2 separate regions of the Homo sapiens genome follow, and region 1 is linked to region 2. Evidence: promoter capture Hi-C in 16 types of primary human blood cells and fetal thymus (Javierre and others, 2016). All regions are on one chromosome and are shown on one strand. The core of a region is centred on a gene start or on the middle of the fragment in contact, and the rest is flanking DNA. Distances in the headings are between cores, read along the strand shown.

Region 1 (4,030 bases), core at 1,057-3,556, 470 kb after region 2:
TTCTTTTTTTTGTTTTTTTTTTTGAGACAGAGTCTCGCTCTGTTGCCCAGGCTGGAGTGCAGTGGCACCATCTCGACTCACTGCAAGCTCCGCCTCCTGGGTTCACACTATTCTCCTGCCTCAGCCTCCTGAGTAGCTGGGACTACAGGCGCCTGCCACCACGCCTGGCTAATTTTTTGTATTTTTGGTAGAGACGGGGTTTCACCTTGTTAGCCAGGATGGTCTCGATCTCCTGACCTCGTGATCCACTGTCTCAGCCTCCCAAAGTGCTGGGATTACAGGAGTGAGCCACCACGCCCGGCCTTCAACGAATTCTTAAATTCTTTTTTTTGAGACAGAGTCTCACTCTGTCGCCCAGGCTGGAGTGCAGTGGCGCGATCTCTGCTCACTGCAACATCCACCTCCTGGGTTCAAGCAATTCTCATGCCTCAGCCTCCTGAGCAGCTGGTATTACAGGCGCCCGCCACCACGCCGGGCTAATTTTTGTATTTTTAGTAGAGATGGGGTTTCGCCATGTTGGCCAGGCTGGTCTTGAATTCCTGAACCTGGGGGCGGAGGCTGCAGTGAGCTGAGATCATGCCACTGCACTCCAGCCTGAGCGACAGAATGAGACACAGTCTAAAAAAACAGGAAAAAAAAAAAGAGAGAAGGAAGGGCTAAGGACCTAATTACACTTCTTCAGCATTGACACCAAGCCCTTTAATTCATCTGTCCATCCAACCCCTCCTCACTGTAGTGTCAGCCCAAGGATCATGTGGTTGCAGCTTAACTCACCAGGGCCTCTCTTATCCCAGCCACAGATCATGGTGCCCATGGACAGCCCCATGCCTTTGTACTGATACACCATGTTGGCAAGCAGTTTGGAGGCAGCTGCTACAGAGATGCGTTCCTTATTTCGAAGCTCATAGATTCGACATTGCCGAGCCAACAGCCGTTCCCAGAAGCTGCAATCCGCTGCGCCCCCAGCCATGGTGCCTAGCAGGTATGGGTTGATCTCTATCACCTTCTTCACCGTCTGGGAGGCAATGTAAGCACCCGCTGTAGCCCTGGAGTCAGCTGCAACTATGACTCCATGGCGGAACTGTTAAGATCAGAGGAAAACACAAAACAGGCCACATAAGACCACAAAAACACTCCTACATACTTCTTTTTGCATCAATCCAAACCCAGCACATCTCTTTCTCCGTCCTTTTATACTTCACAGTATACTTCTATACTTCACCATATATTAATGTCACCCGAGCTTCACATCAATCCCTTGACATGGATATAACCCATATTAAATTCATTTTATAGGATGGGCGTGGTGGCTCACTCCTGTAACCCAGGCATTTTGGGAGACCAAGGCGGGAGGACCGCTTGAGGCCAGGTGCTGGAGACCAGCCTGGGCAACACAGGGAGATCCATCTCTACAAAAAGTAAAAAAACTTAGCCTGTCGTGGTGGTGTGTGCCTATAGTGTCAGCTACTCTGGAGGCTGAGGCGCTGGAGCCACTGCACTCCAGCCTGAGCGACAGCGAAAAGCCCTGTTTCAAAAAAAAAAAAAAAACAAATCATTTTATAGATGAGGAAACAGGTTCAATGAAATCAAATGATTTCTCAATCTAGAGCTAGTTATTGCAGAGCTGGGCAAGGAACCCCAAATGTCTGATTCTTAGTACAATGCTTACCCTCACCACGCTTCCCCTTCATGCCAGTTTCAGTTACCCCTGCCTTGAGGGGCCGCCCAGTTTCCAAAACTTTGGTAAACGTTTACAATAGCCTTCCCTCGGCCAAGATTCATTGTTGTTGCGGCCTTTCCCAGCTAGAAGATCCTGAACAGCAGCAACCTGGGGTCGCCTAGGAATCAACCCAAGAGGCCTCACCTTCCTCCCCCGACTTACCCCCGGCCCCACCGCCACCCTTTCCAACCAGAGCAAAGACAGGGGCCTCCTGGGCCAATGAGACAGCAAAACTGCTGCGGTCCGAACGAGAGGACCCAGCCTCCGCCTGGGTTGGTGGCCAAGGCCACCGCAAACTCCGGTCAGGCTGGGAGGCCAGGCAAGTCGCGGGCGTTCAGTACTCAGCCTGGCAAGGGGGCTGGCTCCACACCTTGAAGGCCAGGGTGGTTGTTCCATGAAGCATTTCGATTCCTGGCTCTTCTGGGACACCCCAGCCTGGCGCGGCCAGGCTCAGACCATCACTGAGACTCCCTGGACCTAGATCCAGCAGATCTGCACGACCCCCAAGTCCGAAAAACCCGCGCTGGTTCACCGGTAGCGGTCTCTCCAACACGCTGGCAAGCGCCATGTCTAGTGTGGGCAGAAAGAACTAATTCTGAGAACGCCTAGCAAAGATAGGCCGGGCAACGCCTCGCCGTCACAGCTTCACTTCCTATTAAATCTATTCCGGAATGGAGCCATTTTGACTGCTGGCAAGCACGCCTCCAAAAAGAAGAGCCAGATGCGAAAGACCATTTTCACTGAAGGGGGTCGGGGAAATAGATGGCTTCACTAACCTTAAATTCTAAAAGGACGTACCTGCCATCTTGGCTTTGGTCATGCAAGTAGTCCTGGATCAGAATAACCTCAAAATCACAGGAAGTGACTGAAAACGTCCATGTTGCGTAAGGGAAGTGAGGTCGGCCATCTTTGAGAAGGGCGTGACTGGTTGAAAATCGGTTCTGAACCCTTAGCGGTGAGTCCTCCCACTCCAGCCTGGTGTCCAAGCAACAGGTTACATCGCTGCTGCTTCAGCACCTTGTTAACGCGCCTGAGGTTGCCATCTTGTTTAAGGGCACCTTCTAAAATTGGGTAAAATAATGATCCATTCTGAGGCCATTTCCCTATATTAGTTAAACCACAGCAATTAGTGGTAAAACAACGCAACAAAATAAAAGTGCTATACCTCTTGTTGTCAGTCGCCATACAGCAACCCTTCTTTAACAGTAACCGGTTATTAATATCCAATATTCGTTCTCTTGACTCCTACCTTCTGGTGGAAATTCGAATAAGTAATGAATTGCCTAAAAGGCAGATGGAAGAAGAAAAAGCAAAGGGTCCAGTTAATCCACAAACTAGATTCTCAGTTCAGACCTGAATAAGTGTCAGTAGTAATTTACCATCTCAGAGACGGGAGGACGGTTGAGACTGCATAAATATGTACCAAGAGATTCTCTAACTTCAACTTGCTAAGATGATGCCTTTTATTCAGGAACATACTATATTTCATTGCCTCTTCCTCCCTCCACCCACCTTCATTTTTCAAATCTTTTGGGAACTATAACAAACCGGGAAGTGTGCATATGTATGAAATGTTGCCTCCTGCTTTATGGTTCTATGAAGTCAGTCTCTGGCCTTCCTTGTTGGATTCTAGCAGCAACATCTATCAACACCGAAATTCCACTTTCCTCTGATGCCCAGTTCGGCCCCATCTTTCCCCCAGCAGACTCTGCATATGCTGTATTGTTTTTGTTTGTTTGTTTGTTTGTTTTTTGAGACCAAGTCTTGCTGTGTCCCCCAGGCTGGAACACAGTGGCACGATCTCTGCTCACTGCAACCTCTGCTTCCCAGGTTCAAGCGATTCTCCTGCCTCAGCCTCCCGAGTAGCTGGGATTACAGGCGCCTGCCTCCACAACAGGCTAATTTGTGTGTGTGTGTGTGTGTGTGTGTGTGTGTGTGTGTGTGTGTGTGTTTAGTAGAGACGGGGTTTCACCGTGTTAGCCAGGATGGTCTTGATCTCCTGACCTCGTGATCCACCCACCTCGGCCTCCCAAAGTGCTGGGATTACAGGCATGAGCCACCGTGCCCGGCCTCACGCCTGGCTAATTTTTGTATTTTTAGTAGAGATGGGGTTTCACCATATTGGCCACGCTGGTCTCAAACTCTTGACCTCAGGTGATCCGCTTGTTAGCCAGGATGGTCTTGATCTCCTGACCTCGTGATCCACCCACCTCGGCCTCCCAAAGTGCTGGGATTACAGGCATGAGCCACCGTGCCCGGCCTCACGCCTGGCTAATTTTTGTATTTTTAGTAGAGATGGGGTTTCACCAT
Region 2 (4,186 bases), core at 737-3,236:
AATTCATCTCATCCTGGATTCTAGTCACCCAATTAAAACTGAAATTAGAAATAATGTGAATCAAAGACCATTCTGCAGAAATTCTAGGTTTACAGCTCAATTTGAATCACCAGTTTTAGAAGGCACAGACTGTGTATTTCTAAAAAATGAAAGGAGCTTTAGAGATCAGCTTCTTTAATCCTTTCATTACAGAGATGAGAAAACTGTAACCTGATAGTGTTGACAAATCTGTCCAGAGCTGTGCTGTCCAACACCACAGCCACTAGACACAGGTGACTATTTAAACTTAGTCAAAGTTAAATTAAAAATTCAGTTCTTCAGTCTGTTAGCCACATTTCAAATGTTCAATAACCACATGTGGCTAGTGGTTACCATAATGGGCGGTGCAGACCCTGAATGTTTCCCCACTGCAAAAAGCTCTGTTGGACAGTGCTGGTCCAGGATCACCCTCCCTAGCCAAAGTCAGGTCTCCTGACCTGCATTCTCCTCCATTTCTCCTGGACCATATTAAGTATGGCCAACTATGCAGAAACATTTGAGATAGCCGGCCTTCATCCTTTCCTATCAATCTCTGCCAAATTTTTCCCATTTAAAAAAGAAAAGAATCCAGTCTGATGGCTCTGATGAAAATTTAAAATAAATAAAAATTTCTTAAAAAGAAAAGTTTAATATTTTTAATGAAAACCCTCTAACATGACATATATATAAAGCCATCATCTGAGAGTCCTAAACATAACAGGAAGGAATATAAAGGTTTAGAGTCCAAATGTCTGTTATCCAGTTCCCCCTCAGTCACTTATTAGTTCCAGGGCCTGGATACATCAACTAAAGTTTCACCAAGGTGTAATTACCTCAAGTGTAAAATAGGAATACTACTATTTGTCTGTCTCCACATCACTGGGTAGGAAGGAAGGATCACATGAGCTGATGTATGTAAAAGTATATGTGGAATGTATGTGAATCCTACAAGCCTGTTAACGTGGGAACTAGAAGACATTTTACAAATGTTTACTTTTTGTAAAAGGCTTCATACAAATATGTGCATCTTGTTATAATCATTTAACTTTCTGCCTCCTATAAATGGATAATGGGAATCTGAAAATATGAATAAAAAGCAACGATTAAGGAGAAAACAGAAAGCAAAGCCCAAATGAGGATCAACAAAAACAGTACAATCCTCCTCAAACACAAAAGAACCATCAAGAATCATGCTGAGAGGCATTAACAGTGGCAAGAGACTTTGATGAACATCCAGACCAATCCTCTCACAACACAGACAGAGAAACTGAGGCTCAGAGGTAAGTTTATTTGTCCATTCAACTAGTTAACAGAGCAAAGCCTACAATACAAGTCTTCTGATTTTTTTTTTTTTTTTTTTGAGACAGGTTCTCACTCTGTCACTCAGGCTGGAGTGCAAGTGGCATGATCACAGTTCACTGCAGCCGTGACCTCCCACGCTCAAGCAATCCTTCCACCTCAGCCTTCTGAGTAGCTGGGACCACAGGCACACGCCACCACGCCCCTCTAATTCTTTTGATTTTTGGTAGAGACAAGGTCTTGCTATATCACCCATGCTGGTCTCAAACTCCTGGGCTCAAGCGATCCTCCCACCTTGGCCTCCCCAAGTGCTGGGATTACAGGCCTAAGCCACCGCACCAGCCCCTCCTCTGACTTCTTGTCTCATGCTCTTCCCCACCCCACAGCCTCTCCTATGAATCTTTGCCTTGGCTTTTTTTCTTTCGTACCACTTTCCATGTTTTAGCATCCAAGTAACTTAATAACATAACTTTTTCTTGCAGTTAAAAAGTGTTTATTTGGCCGGGCACAGTGGCTCATGCCTGTAATTCCAGCACTTTGGGAGGCTAAGGTAGGCAGATCACAAAGTCAAAAGATAGAGACCATACTGGCCAACATGGTGAAACCATGTCTCTCCTAAAAATACAAAAATTAGCCAGGCGTGGGAGCACACACTTGTAGTCCCAGCTACTCAAGAGGCTGAGGCAGGAGAACTGCTTAAACCCAGGAGGCGGAGGTTATAGTGAGCCAAGATCATGCCACTGCACTACAGCCTGGACAACAAAGCGAGACTCCGTCTCAAAAAAAAAAAAAAAGGTTTATTCATTCATACACTCATTCAACAAACACACACTGTTACTGTTCACAATTGAGTCCAGTGGGAGAGAGAAGAAAGTGAATGAATAGTTTCATAACAATGTGATAAGTGCAGCACTGGAGGAATGCAGTAGACTAAGGGCTCCTATGCAACCTGAGGGGTGGGAATGACTTGGAATAGGAGTCATCCAAGCTGGGAGGATGGAGAAAATAAGGCAGTAAGTTAGGGCAGCAATGAAATTCATAAATATAAATCTATTTCGATATTCTTTTTTCTTTGGTAGCCTTAAATACACCAAATATAAAATAGAGTTCAATAAACAAGTAAAGTCATCAATTAGCACTTTTTAGCAAATAAAATAAGTAGATTCAAAGTTTTAAGAATGAAAGGTAAAGAACTAATCTCAGAGCCAGGCACTGTGACACACCTGTAGGTCCAGCTACACAGAAGCCTCAGGCAGGAGGATCACTTGACCCCAGGGAGTTCCCAGCTTGGGCAACGTAGCGAGACCCCAGCACATAAAAAAATATATAATTAATCTCACCTTCTAAACAGAGAAAAATGAGTTGAAAAAAGTTATGATGTGACTACCTCAGATTTCCTACAAATGTAGGACAGTTCCCTCTGAGAGAGCTTATTTGGCGGCAGGACCTAATTCAATATAAGGTGGAAATATCAAAGAGAAAATGAAATAAAAACTAAATGGGCCCCTCCACCAACAAAAAATTAAAGATTATTGCGTGGGAGGTCACCATTGAGAATAAAAGACGTAGAACAAACCAAAAAAAGAAGCTCTCAAACTAAGGAGGTGAAAAAAAGAAATCAAACGGGAAACCTGCGGGTCTATGTGCACAGTCTTGGTCTTCCCCCACACAACAAAATCTAGGGCCACTTTAGGGTTCTATGCCCTTTTGTTCCTAACTCGACATTGCCCACTTCTGGCCAGAATGTAAAGCAACCCCCAACCCAGCATCTAAACCCTCCTGGACCTCTGCTGCCCCCCAATGACTGGAAAGAAACTAGGTTTTTTAACACAGGTATCAGTAGCTTCTTCCCCCAAACTCAACTCCTCATGTTTTGTAGTAGCCGCTCAACACATGAAACATACCATCCACTAGGTGGCAGCAAAGCCCACAGAATAACATCAAGTTCCCCTTCCCGAGGTAATTTTCTAGATTACTATACTTTAACTGAATTCGAAAAGCCAACATAATTTCATGTTTGTAAACAGTGCTGCCAGTCAGAGTTTAAAATGTTCTGCCCAACCCTGTAGCCCCCTTGTTCCAGCTAGGATCAAACACTGAATTTTTTAAGACTTGTGAGAGAATGGTCTCCATTATAAAAACAAAACAATGCTAACAAGGCACAGGCATTTGGCAACTATCTCCCTGGGAGCTGAGCACATTTTCAAGCAAGGTTTTGTCCCTTTGGGCCCAGTTCACCCTTCCTTCTGACCCAGGGCCCAATTCATCAGGAACTTTAATTCTCAAACTGTGATCCAATACAGTTCTGTCCTTCTTTTCCTCATTACCCTTCAGAACACCTGAGATGGACTGAGATTTTTTTTTTTTTTTTTAAAAAAGAGTTTCACAGGCCAGGTGCAGTGGCTCACGCCTGTAATCCCAGCACTTTGGGAGGCCAAGGCGAGTGGATCACGAGGACAGGAGTTCAACACCAGCCTAGCCAACAGAGTGAAACCCCATCTCTACTAAAAATACAAAAACTAGCCGGGCAAGTGCCTGTAGTCCCAGCTACTCGGGGAGGCTGCGGCAGGAGAATTGCTTGAACCCGGGAGGCAGGGTTGCAGTGAGCCAAGACTGCACCACTGCACTCTAGCCTGGGCAAGACAGTAAGACTCTGTCTCAAAAAAAAAAAAAAAAGAATTTCACAAAGAAACACAGAAGAACAAACATGGAAAAAACTAAAGTATATACATTTTTAAATACTGAAATCCACTGAGCTTCTTTCTGTCATGGATTCATTCAAAAATATGCCGCCACCTACACAACAAAAACTGATCATTTCAGGTGTGCATGGATTTCTGGGGGTCAGAAGCTCACTGGGAGAATTTTT

Evidence for each region. Contacts are between HindIII fragments. The CHiCAGO score rates a contact against its expected background, and 5 or more counts as called.
Region 1: the fragment with the promoter of PSMB5 here is called in contact with a fragment that was not itself captured in region 2 in 1 of 17 cell types (neutrophils); the score reaches 6.0 in neutrophils.

Annotation. Positions count from the first base shown.
Region 1 is chr14:23,032,594-23,036,623 of GRCh38, forward strand. It overlaps PSMB5 (proteasome 20S subunit beta 5), which reads right to left and starts at 2,307. Exons shown (of 3, transcript NM_002797.5): 1 at 2,091-2,307; 2 at 775-1,081. The coding sequence starts at 2,288. RefSeq lists enhancers at 2,033-3,232, 2,033-2,702, 2,487-2,781. The HindIII fragment of the contact is 18,957 bases long and covers 1-4,030 here.
Region 2 is chr14:22,567,337-22,571,522 of GRCh38, forward strand. All of the region lies in intron 2 of DAD1 (defender against cell death 1), which reads right to left. Among named protein-coding and RNA genes, the nearest start is that of LINC02332, 12 kb to the left of the region's middle. RefSeq lists an enhancer at 2,958-3,680. The HindIII fragment of the contact is 9,980 bases long and covers 1-4,186 here.